3 separate regions of the Homo sapiens genome follow, and all the other regions are linked to region 3. Evidence: promoter capture Hi-C in human tissues and cell types (Jung and others, 2019). All regions are on one chromosome and are shown on one strand. The core of a region is centred on a gene start or on the middle of the fragment in contact, and the rest is flanking DNA. Distances in the headings are between cores, read along the strand shown.

Region 1 (4,309 bases), core at 581-3,080, 50 kb before region 3:
GCATGCCTAGGTGACTACCACTCCGATCGCAATAGATAACATTGCCATCGCCCCCACCAGTCCCCTCATGCCTCTGGGCAGTCCAACCACTTCCCTGTTTCCAGGCCAGTGATCTACTTCTTTTTCACTATTTATTGGCCTTGCCTCTTCTAGAGCTTCTAGAACTTCATATAAGTGAAATCATACACTCTCGTGTATATACTTCATATAAGTGAATATATACTCTCGTGAGAACTTACGTACTTTGTGTTGCTTGATTTTTGGCAATCTAAAAATGGCAGAGTGGAGAAGCCAGGTGAAGCCTTCGAAAGTCCTATGTGATTGAGAAAATAGCATTTTCTTCTCATATAGATTTGAGTTCAAATCTTTTCTGTCACTTAAAGATGGTATAAACTTAGGGTGATTAGGAAAAGCCATTGTTTAATTTCTCTGAAGATCCCAGAGTTGTTGGGAGATGTAGATAAGATCCCCAGGTGTATTGGTTAGCAATTGGTGTGTAACAAACCACCTCAAAGCTCAGGGCTTATACAGTAAGCATTTATTATAGCTCATGAGGCTATAGGTCTGGTCTGGCCAGGTTTGGGTCATCTTGGCTGGGCTTGTTTATGCGTCCGTGGTCAGCTGGTGGGTTGGCTTGGGGTTGGCTGGTCTAGGGTAGCCTTGCTCCCATGTCTCATATTTGGCTGGCTCTGGGCTGGGACAATGGGGATGACTGGGCCACATTAGCTTAGCCTGGCCTTGTTCACAGAATGGCTGGGTGGGGGTCCAAGAGAGAAATTGGAAGACTGCAAGGACTTCAGAGCCTTGCTTGGAACTGAAGCATCGTTTTTGCTGCATCCTATTGGCCAAAGCAGATTGCAAGGCTGCCCAGGTTCAAGGGCCAGAGAAATAGATTCCACATTTTGGTGGGGGGTTGGGGGGGGGTCTACAAAGTCATACTGTGTAGAGAATGGATATAGAGAGGGGTGGAGATTTCTGTTTTTTCAATCAATCCAGCATATACCAGGGAAGCATCTCAGCTATTTTGATTTTTTTTTTTTTTTTTTTTTTTGAGACGGGAATTTCCTTCTTGTTGCCCAGGCTGGAGTGCAATGGCGTCATCTCAGCTCACTGCAACCTCCGCCTCCCAGGTTCAAGTGATTCTCCTGCCTCAGCCTTCCGAGTAGCTGGGATTACAGGAGCCTGCCACCATGTCTGGCTACTTTTGTGTTTTAAGTAGAGATGGGGTTTCTCCAGGTTGGTCAGGCTGGTCTCCAACTCCCGACCTCAGGTGATCAGCCCGCCTCGGCCTCCCAAAGTGCTGGGATTACAGGCATGAGCCACCACACCCAGCTGCATTTCAGCTATTAAGAACCAACTTTTTAAGTTCATTAAGGGATGGCAGGACCCATTCATTGCTGTATTACTGTACCCAGAAAGCTCCCTGGCATATAGGAATGTCTGAATTAGCTGTCAGGATTTGCTGATGGGTTGTCTGAGGGGTTTGGGAAAATGAGAAAGTCAAGGATAATTCCAGGTTTGGGGCTTGAAAACCTAGAAGGATGGAGTCCCAGTTAATTAAGATGGGAAGACCGTGTGAGAAGCTGGTTTTGTGGGTGGGATGAGGAGATAAGAAGCTTTATTTTGAACATGTTGAGTTTGAGGAGCCTGTTAGACTTCCAAATGGAGTTTATTCTTTTTTATTTTTCTGTGTACCATAGTAAACATTTATAATTTTATTCAAAGGGTTTTTTTTTAATCAGTTCCAGCAAGATACAGGTGTCAAAACCAAAGGATTTATTTCTCTTTCTCTCTCTCTACATATATATATAGAGAGACAGGTTCTTGTTCTGTCACCCAGGCTAGAATGCAGTGGTGCGATCATAGCTCACTGCAGCCTTGAACTCCTGGACTCAAGCAATCCTCTCTTCTCAGCCTCCTGAGTAGCTGAGACTATAGATGTGTGCCCCCATGCCTGGCTAAGTTTATTTTTTGTAGAGATAGGGTCTCACTATGTTGCCCAGGGTGGTTTCAAACTCCTGGGCTCAAGCGATTGTCCTGCCTTGGCCTCCCAAACTGCTAGGATTACAGGTATGAGCTGCAGTGCTTGGCCACAAAAGGGTTTATTGAAAAGAGTTTAATGACATTTACAGAGTGTGAGCAGGGTTGAGGAAGCCAACAAAAGTTGGTGAAGTCCCTGTGGCTAAGAATAGCAGAGACATCACCACTCTGAAGCCTGAAGGCACAAAAGTAAAGAACATCCACCCAGATCATCCACCCAAGCAGCTCTGTGCCTCTCTCCCCTGGGTCTGAAAGATTTTGGATCATGGGAGAGAAGCCACCCAGCAGGAGCGTGAGATCACAGTTCTACCAGGGCCACAGAATGTAGAGGGGAGCAGGAGAACCAATACAAGTCAGTTCCCTCTAGAATTTCCTGACCTGGTAATTCTGCTACCTAAGAAAGCAAACAATTACATTCTCTAGTTTTGTACAGGTAACTGGACGGCGGAGGCAGGGAGGGCATTAGGGAAAATATGGAGAGGGCGACTTTGTGTTATAGGTGGAAATAACTGGGAAGATGGATCACAGATTGAACTAGTTATTGGAGGAGATTGAAATGATCTCTCCACTGACTTCCAGATTGGGTTGGACAGCCCCAAACCAATACAATCCCAGTTCCAGCCCCAACTGCAGTCCCAATGTCGGCTCTAAATTCATCCCTAAATTCAATCTCTGTCCCCACTGCAGCTCCAGCCTAGCTGTACTACACCCCCATGCTCCATCCCACATGTTTCCAATCTCAGCCCCAAACTCAGACCCAACTCCAAAGGAGCCCTGTCTACAATCTTAGCCTGAGACCCAATCTGATTTTTAGCCCCAAGTAAGTCAACCCCATCCTAACCCCAGATACAACCCCAATTGTGATCGCTGTTTCAACCTCACCTGCAAACCCAGCCCCCAGCCACATTCCTAGTTCTCACGCCTGGCTCAGCCACTATCGAATCCTCACTTCCTACCTCAAAACCAGCTCCACACCCACCTCCAGCCCTTATTTCAGGCTCCCCCTCGGAGCCCTTTCTCTGCCTCCATCTCAGCTCCTGCAGCCACAGAGACCACTTGGGCCAAGGATGTCAATGAAGTATGAAGATCTCAAGTGCTTAGAGAGTGAGAAGGAACATGATCTTAGAAAAGGTATGACAGGCCAGGTGCGGCGGCTCACGCCTGTAATCCCAGCACTTTGGGAGGCTGAGGTGGATGGATCACCTGAGGTCAGGAGTTCGAGACCAGCCTGGCCAACATGGCGAAACCCCGTCTCAACTAAAAATAAAAAATTGGGCCGGGTGCAGTGGCTCACACCTGTAATCCCAGCACTTTGGGAGGCTGAGGCAGGCGGATCGTGAGGTCAAGAGATCAAGACCATCCTGGCCAACATGGTGAAACCTGTCTCTACTAAAAAATACAAAAATTAGCTGGGCATGGTGGCGGGTGCCTGTAGTCCCAGCTACTTATTAGGCTGAGGCAGGATAATTGCTTGAACCTGGGAGGCGGAGGTTGCAGTGAGCCGAGATCGCGCCACTACACTCCAGCCTGGCAACAGAGCGAGACTCTGTCTCAAGAAAAAAAAAAAAAAGAAAAAGAAAAGGTAAGACAAGCAGAAGACCCCAGAGACAGGCCCACCCCTCAAAGTTTGCAGAGGCCTGAGCTAGTTCCTCTTGAGCTCACTTCCCTTTGCTCCCTTCCCTCAGCTCAGTCTTGCACCTTGAGGAGCCTGGGGGACACGTGAGGACACCTTCAGCATGGTCCACACCCTCCATTCACCCCCCCAACCTCTGCCCATGGCTACCACTTGAGCCTCAGGGTGGGCACACCAGGAGCAGGGTCTGCCACCCAGGGGACAGGCCCGGGGAAGACAGGTGTACAGCTGCCTGGGTGGACGATCTGGGCTCCCAGGTACCCAGAGGATGGTCTAGAAGGGCAGGTATGGCTTGGGGTGAGCACATCACCTTGGCCCTGGAGATTCCCAGTCCCACAGGAAGGGATGGAGTCACAGGAGGGCCAGTGAGGGCCCTCTAAAGTGTGAAGCCCAGGAGGTCTAGTCTAAGGATGGTGCCTCTCTCAGAGACAGTAACTCTTTCTTTCTTTCTTTCTTTCTTTCTTTCTTTCTTTCTTTCTTTCTTTCTTTCTTTCTTTCTTTTCTTTCTTTTCTTTCTTTTCTTTCCTTTCTTTTCTTTTCTTTCTTTCCTTCTTTTCTTCCTTTCCTTTCTTTTCTTTCTTTTCCTTCTTTCCTTCTTTCTTTTTTTTTTTTTTTTGATGGAGTTTTGCTCTTGTT
Region 2 (3,956 bases), core at 224-2,723, 57 kb after region 3:
GTACTTCTTTATTATTTATTTATGTGTCAACGTCTCTCAGTATTCTGTAGAATTTCAATTTTCAATTTTGGTCATTTCTTGTGACTTTGAAACCAGTTTTATTTTCTTTCTATCTTCCTCTCTCTATCCCTCTATCCTTCTTTTGCCTTCTTCCTTCTCTTCCTCTTTCCCTCCTTTCTATAGTTTTTTATTCTTTTTTTCCTTTTAAAACTCAGCCATATAGTACATATCTTGAATCCTTGTTGACTTTTCATCGATGTATTACAACTTAAAATGCATTCTTTAGACAAATACATTTGGCAAACCTTAAAATGACGTTAGGCAGCGGTTGCAGCCAAGCACGCAGCACTTTGTGTGGAGAAGCTGTTGTGCGTAGAGTAGTTGTTGAGAGCGCAGACCATGGATCCAGACCACCCGTGTTTGCAATTCTGTCTCCGTTATTACTAGATGTGTCATCTTGGGAAAGTTATTTCATCTTTGTGCCTCAGTTGCTTCATTTGTAAATTGTGAAGAAAAGTACCTACCCTGAATGATTTTTGCGAAAATTAAAGGTCAATACAAGTGAAATGATCGGAATAGTAACTAGTAAGCACTGGTTTAGTGTATGATAATAACTACTATTATTATGACCCACTGTCTACTGGGAAAAGAAGCCTTGCAGTGAAAACACAAATAAAATGTGTAAGAATCCTGACTGGCATGGCCAGGTGCGGTGGCTCATGCCTGTAATCCCAGCACTTTGGGAGGCCGAGGCGGGTGGATCACCTGAGGTCGGGAGTTTGAGACCAGCCTGACCAACATGGAGAAACCCCGTCTGTACTAAAAATACAAAATTAGCCGGGCGTGGTAGTGGGCGCCTGTAATCCCAGCTACTCGGGAGGCTGAGGCAGGAGAATCACTTGAACCTGGGAGGCGGAGGTTGTGGTGAGCTGAGATTGCTCCATTGCACTCCAGCCTGGGCAACAAGAGCAAAACTCTATCTCAAAAAAAAAAAAAAAAAAAAAAAAAAAAAGAATCCTGACTGAAGCCTAGGAGCACAGAGATTGGAAGAGTCAGGGGAGTTTTCAATGAGAAGTTAATACTGAAGTCTTTAGACTACTTTTATTCAGGTATGATTGATATGAAAAGCTATTCCTATTTAATTATCACATATCAATGAATTTGCAGTTAAATATATGCCTGTGAAACCAACACTACCATCAAACCCATCGTCATCTCCCAAAGTTTCCTCCTGTCCCCTTCTGTGATAATGATGATGATGATGATGATGATGTGTGGCTCTTTTTTTTTTTTGGCAAGAACACTTACCATAAAATCTACTCTTTTAGCAATTTTAAGTACAAAATACAGCATCGTTAGCTACAGGCGGTATGCCATATAATAGATTTCCAGAACTTATTTATCTTGCATAATTGAAGCTTCGTACTCTGTAATTACCACTTCCTCATTTTCCCCTCCCTGCATCCCTTGTTTTTTTTTTTTTTTTTTTTTTTTTTTTTTTGAGACAGAGTCTCACTCTGTTGCCCAGGCTGGAGTACAATGGCATGATCTCAGCTCACTGCAACCTCTGCCTCCTGGGTTCAAGCGATTCTCCTGCCTCGGCTTCCTGAGTAGCTGGGACTACAGGCACCCGCCACCATGCCCAGCTAATTTTTGTGTTTTTACTAGAGACGGGGTTTCACCATGTTGGCCAGGCTGGTCTCGAACTCCTGACCTCAGGTAATCTGCCCACCTCGTCTTCCCAAAGTGCTGGGATTACAGGCGTGAGCCACCGCGCCTGACCGACATTTGTTATTTTTGAATTTTTGATAATACTCATGCTAACAGGTATGAGATTATGTCTCACTGTGATTTTGATTTGCATTTCCTTGATGATGACTGATGTTCAACACCTTTTTATATACCTGTTGGGCATTTGTATGTCTCCTTTGGAAAAATGTTTATTCAGGTATTTTGCCCACTTTAAACATCAGGTTTTTTTTTTTTTTTTTGCTGTTGAGTTGTATGAGTTCCTTATACATTTGGAATATTAACCCCTTATCAGATACATGGTATGCAAATGTTTTCTCCCATTCTGTGGTTGCCTTTTCATTTTGTTGATTGTTTTCTTTGCTGTGTAGAAACTTTTTAGTTTGATATAATTCTATTTATTTTTGCTGTTGTTGCTTGTGCTTTTGGTACCATATCCAAAAATGGATATGGATTTTGATGGACCCCCCAAATTATTGTCAAAACCAATGTCATAGAGCTTTCCTGTATGTTTTCTTCTAACATTTTTATGATTTCAGGTCTTACATTTAAGTCTTTAATCCATTTTGAGTTGACTTTTGTGTATGTTATAAATAAGGTCTAATTTCATTTTTTTAATGTTTATGTTCAGCTCTTTTGTTTTTGCTCACAATTTCTTTAGATATTAGAAGTCTTTTGTAGCTCAATACAAGTTTTAGGATTTCTTTTTTCTATTTCAGTGAAAAATGCCATTGGAATTTTGAAAGGGGTTGCAGCGAATCTTTAGATCACTTTGGGTAGTAGAGACATTTTGATAATATTGATTTTTCCTATTCATGGACATGGGATTTTGTGGAATAGGTTTACTGTGCACTGATTACCAACTTCCCTGAGTCCAGTAAGACTGAACACACTTATACGCAGCAAATTAAATATAGTGGATTTATTACCTACAGATAGGCAGCAAGGGACAACAGAAACCCAGTGTTCATTGCAAGCATTCCCGGAGTCTCTGGAAAACTGCTTGTGGTGGATGGAGTGTCATATGTGCATGCTCCACCTGCATTGCAGCTGAGGGACCTCCTCAAAAAAAGCAGCCTGCCCTGGCTTTTTTTTTTTTTTTTTTTTGGAGACAGAGTCTCACTCTGTTGCCCAGACTGGAGTGCAGTGGCATGATCTTGGCTCAGTGCAACCTCCGCCTCCTGGGTTCAAGGGATTCTCCTGCCTCAGCCTCCTGTATAGCTGGGACTACATGAGTGTGCCATCAGGCCTGGTTAATTTTTGTATTTTTAGTAAAGATGGGGTTTCGCCCTGTTGCCCAGGCTGGTCTCAAACTCCTGGCCTCCCAAAGTGCTGGGATTACAGGTATGAGCCACTGCACCTGGCTGGCTTTTTTTTAATACCCTGGGGTATGTGACATACTGGGCTAAATCACTGAAGGACATCTTATTTCTAGGGGAGACTGGAATAGAGCCTGGGCTATTCTGGCCAACTCCTTATCTCAGGATGGCGAATTCCCAGCACATTTTATAGTTATTCTTGGGAACTACAAGCAAGAAAGGGGAAGAACTAAGTCAGTGCAAGTCTACCTCCTCCCTAAATAACTGTCCTGCAGATATCTTTCCATTTATTTGTGACTTTCCAATATATTTCATTAATGTTTTATAGTTTTCAGTGTATAGGTCTTTCACCTCCTTATTTAAGTGTATTCCTAAGTATTTTATTCTTCCTGATGTTATTGTAGATGGAATTGTTATCTTAATTTCTTTTTTGGATAGTTCGTTGTCAGGGTATAGAAATGCTACTGATACTGTAGGTTGGTTTTTGTATCCTGCAACTTTACTGAATTCATTTATTAGTTTTAGCAGTTTTTTTGGTGGAATCTTTAGGGTTTTCTACATATAAGATCATGTTAGCAAATGAGACAATTTAACTTCTTCCTTTTCTATTTGGATGCCATTTCATTCTTTTTCTTGCCTAATTGCTCTGGCTAGGCCTTCTAGTACTATGTTGAATAGAAGTGGTGAGAATGGATATCCTTGTCTTGTTCCTGGTCTTAGAGGAAAACTTGACTTTCACTGTTGAGTATGATGCTAGCTGTGGGCTTGTCATGTATGGCCTTCTTATGTTGAGTTACATTGTTCAGTACTTAATTTGTAAAAAGATTTTATCATGAAAAGATGCTAAGTTTTGTCAGATGCTTTTCTGTATCTATTGAGATGATCATT
Region 3 (3,842 bases), core at 1,072-3,571:
TTTTAATCTATGGAGTGTGACCTGGGCAGTGGGAGTTTAAAAGCTTCCTAGGTGATTCTAATTTGTAATAAAGTTTAGGAACCATTGGAATAGGCCTTTCTGGGAGAGTTTTTGGCACAAACTTGCCTGGAGCAGTCACGGGAGAAAAGCCAAGAAAGAGGGGCTCTTACCCGGTAGTGGACGAGCCCGTTCAGAGGGTGATCCAGAGGTGTCTTGAGCCTGGGATGTGAGGAGGTAGGGGGTACTGGCTGGAGCCCCACATTTGAACTGCACAGTGGCAGCAGTTGGAGAGAGCCTAGGCAGATGGCAAGGAAAGGGTTAAAAGAGATTGTACGGTTGAGGGGTGGGGGTTCTCTCCTGGGAAATTTGGAGCCAAAGGCCTGCCCTCTCAGGGTGAGCCAATATTGTTGACCAATGAGCCACATCCATTGTACTGCCCAAGTGCCACCCTGCTGAATAAACCTGGTCTCTGGCCAGCTCCTTAAGGTGAGCTAGTGTCTCTGAAACCCACCACCTATCTCCCTTCCTCCTGACCATCAAGGCCCAATGACTCTGTCTTCTAGCTGAGGCCAGCTCTGACAAATTCTTGAGGTTCTAGACTCTGTACCTGCTCTGGGGACCAGGAATGGGTCCTTCTTCACTGCTGCTGCTGCTGCTGCTGCTGCTGCTGGAGGCCTCGTCTCCACTGGGGAGCCTGGCTTGGGGGCAAGGTTGACCAGAACTTCTCTCCCCGACCAGGCTCCCTGCTTGGGAGGCCTGAGAGTTTAGCACGATGTACTTGTACTTTTTCCAGTTGCAGGCCTTGGGGTCAGGGCTGGCTGGACTGGGGGGGCCTTGACTGCAGCTTCGAGATTCAGTAGGTGGGTCTGGGTGTCCTTCGGAGCGCCTGGGACTACCTGGTGGAGGGGCCGTTGGGGGTGTTGGGGGTTCTGCTTCCAGGGGGCGCAGGGAGATGCCCAGAGGTTCATAGCTGGGGAAAGTGTGATGAACGTTAGTGCCATTTCCTAAACTCTGCCTTTGCCCTTAACACCTCACCCACAGAGAACGCCGAGCCAGGGTCCCTCACCTGGCCTGGATGAAGCGGTGGCATGCCTGGACCACGTGCTCCATCTGCAAATAGGTGGCGGCCGCTAGGACTGCTGGTGCAGTGGCTGGAGAGAGGCGCAGGCGCGAAGTGTACATGAAGTCCAATAGAGGGGCGAAGCCTCTCGCTTCGGGACCCCCGGGCAGAGAGAGCACGTCCACCCCGACTCCCGCACGGCCCCGGAAAATTGAATAGAAGAAGCCACTAGAGAGAGAGCAGATAAGTCCTTTGGGGGCTGGGGAACCAAGGGAGACATGCGCAGCTTCAGGAAGCCCCGCCCCCTGAAAAAGTCCCGCCTCCTCACTATCACCCCGCCCCCAATTCTGGGACGCTCCGCCTCCTGCTTCTGAAAGACTTGGCTTCGGATTCCCTCTCAACGGCCCTGTGGTCCCACCCCTTTCCCATTTGGCCCCGCCCCAGGCCCCACCCCTCGAACCTGCAGGCGATGAGAACTGCCTTGTGTGCTCTGAGGGGTTGCCCGCCAACCAGCAGCGTGACGTCAGTGAGGATCCCGCGCAGGCGCAGCTCGTTGAGGTTGCCCAGCACGTCGGAGGAGTGGCGAGTGAACTCGCGGACGTAGCCCAGCGCTCCCTCCGGGGCGGCGGGGGAACCCATAGCGACACAGGCCTGTAGAGGCCGTGGAAAGTGCTCTGGATCCAGGCAGTCCTAAGACGCCTTCCCTCCTCTGTTTGCCTTTTCCTTCCGAGGTGCAACTAGAGCCAGGACTTCCAGCCCCTAGCCCCGGCACACGCAGCCTCCCTCCTAATTCTTCTTGTTCATTCTGCCCTCTACGACACCCTCGCTCCCTTGCCTCTTCCAGATCCCACAGCGCTTGGAGCCAGTTGAAGGTTCCACACCGCGGCGTCGTTGGCGAGCGTGGGGAATCCCGCGCCCATCGCCCTGGGTTCGACCCCCAGTGCCCCTCCAGCACCGCCACTCCCCTCTGCGCGCCTGTGTCTCAGGTGTCCAACCCTGCCTCGAGATCTCACGGCCTGCCGTCCACACACCTCCAAATCCCAGCCGAGGCTCCCTTCCCCGAACTACGGAATTCTGCGACTCCTATCTAGTCCCCAATCCCTAGTTTAGCCCAATTTCTGGGACTCAGGCTCGCTGATGGCAAGCTCCACACAAGCTCCTACCCTCTTGGGGGACCCAGGAGTCTGGCTCCCTCAGTCTCTTGTTCTTACCCCCGTCCTGCAGGGGCCGCGGCTTCTCTTCTTAAGGGGGGCGGGGTCTCTCTCCCCTCTTGGCCTCGGCTCCTTTATCTGGCCGGGATGTCGGGGGCGGGGGTGGAGGTGGGGTGAACGCCTGGGTCTGTATCCTTCCTTCCTCCCTCGCTCTCCAGATGGCGAGTCCAGGGCGGGGTCTCCGTCTCGAGGGCGGGACCTCAGAAACAAGGGGTGGTCGTAACGTAGGGGGTCTTGGGTCACTGCAAGTGGACACGAGGACGGGGATATTGGAATTGGGGAGGAGGTTAGGGATATCGAGGTTGGCAATACGGGAGTCTGAGTCGTCGGAAGGCCTGGGCCAGTGAAAATTGGTGTGTTGGCTTTTGGGAGGGTTTGCCAGGAGCCAACCTTTGCTGCAGGACAAAGTGCATACGGCAACCCCCTCTCCCTCTCTTGTACTGTGTTAAGGGAGAAAAGGGGGAGCCCAACGAGACAGCAGGTTTGGGCAGACGACAGTGGGCTCCCGTAGGGTCTCAGACGGGGAGGGTGTGGTGTGAATGACAGGCTACTCTACCCGGGCCTACAAAAAGGGGGGCTCTGGCCGGGCGGGGTACGGAGAGGGCGGATATGATTTCTAGTTGGTTTCCTTCCATTGTCCTGCGACCGGACGGCTCCGCCAGCTGCTTCCCCTCGAGGAGGTGGGGAAAGCCCCGAGGTGGGGGTGGAGGGGCGAGAGACGCTCGGGAGACCTAGGCGTCCGGCCTCTCTCGCTCCCGACTCTCTTCTGGGTCCTTGTAGGGATCCAGAGAGATGGACTCCCGCCCAAAGCCCGCTTGCTTTCCCCCAATCCCAGCTCACGAGGGCCTCGGGCACCCGCCCGTCGGCTACGCTTGGAGGCTGGCGGGACGCCGGGGTCCAGCGCGGCAAGTAGGCAAGGCTCGGCAATGTGCGGCTCCTTCCACGAGGGGGCGGCCGAGCACTGGCCTCGCCTCGCCCCTCGTCTCCACCCGGCCTGGGGTGCGCTCAGACCCGGGCGCAGGATCCATTTGGTCTGGGCGGCTGAAACCTTTAGCCTCCTCCCCTTTGCGCGGGTTTATTTTGCACCTCTGTCTCCTAGGAGGGGACTAGGGCTGGGCGGAGGGAGCTAGAGTTAGGAGACCGAGGGGACTTTCCCCTCAGGCTGGGGTTCCTACCCGAGGTGAGAAATCGCGGGCTTTAGGAGCCAGGGGAATGGGTGGGACAAGAAGCGGGACCTGAGCCTGGGAACTCCGGGTTTTCTTTTCGAATTAAGCTAGACACTGCTACCCAGATGTCTTTGGAGGTGACTTTTAATTGAACATTAAAATTGGGTGGGGTAAACGAGAAGGGAAAACAAGGAGGAGGGAGAGAGGGCAGGAGGGGGCTTAACCACCCTAATTTGAAGTCCCTGATCTGAGAGATGGGCATGGATCACACCCTCATATTTTGTTTCGGGAGACATTGCGGGCAGGCAAGGCAAAGCTCATTTGGAGAAGGGGTGCTAGAGCTGAATCCAGCTGCAAGGCAGAAGCTCCCCGGATTTGGGCTGGGGAGAGTGTACAGTTGGCCAG

Evidence for each region. The method cuts DNA at HindIII sites, captures the fragments that hold promoters and counts their contacts. A contact is called where the count stands out against the background at its distance.
Region 1: a contact is called between a fragment that was not itself captured here and the fragment with the promoter of BCL6B in region 3, in 1 of the 25 tissues and cell types used here (liver).
Region 2: a fragment that was not itself captured here is called in contact with the fragment with the promoter of BCL6B in region 3 in 1 of the 25 tissues and cell types used here (neural progenitor cells).

What each region holds. Positions count from the first base shown.
Region 1 is chr17:7,070,466-7,074,774 of GRCh38, reverse strand. CLEC10A (C-type lectin domain containing 10A) reads left to right here. Exons shown (of 9, transcript NM_001330070.2): 9 at 1-238. Among named protein-coding and RNA genes, the nearest start is that of CLEC10A, 7.6 kb to the left of the region's middle. The HindIII fragment of the contact is 4,659 bases long and covers 1-4,159 here.
Region 2 is chr17:6,963,847-6,967,802 of GRCh38, reverse strand. No RefSeq gene overlaps it. Among named protein-coding and RNA genes, the nearest start is that of ALOX12, 30 kb to the left of the region's middle. The HindIII fragment of the contact is 6,098 bases long and covers 1-3,956 here.
Region 3 is chr17:7,021,529-7,025,370 of GRCh38, reverse strand. It overlaps BCL6B (BCL6B transcription repressor), which reads right to left and starts at 2,321. Exons shown (of 9, transcript NM_181844.4): 1 at 2,272-2,321; 2 at 1,521-1,711; 3 at 1,067-1,288; 4 at 608-970; 5 at 171-295. The coding sequence starts at 1,699. RefSeq lists a silencer at 3,228-3,367. The HindIII fragment of the contact is 11,810 bases long and covers 1-3,842 here.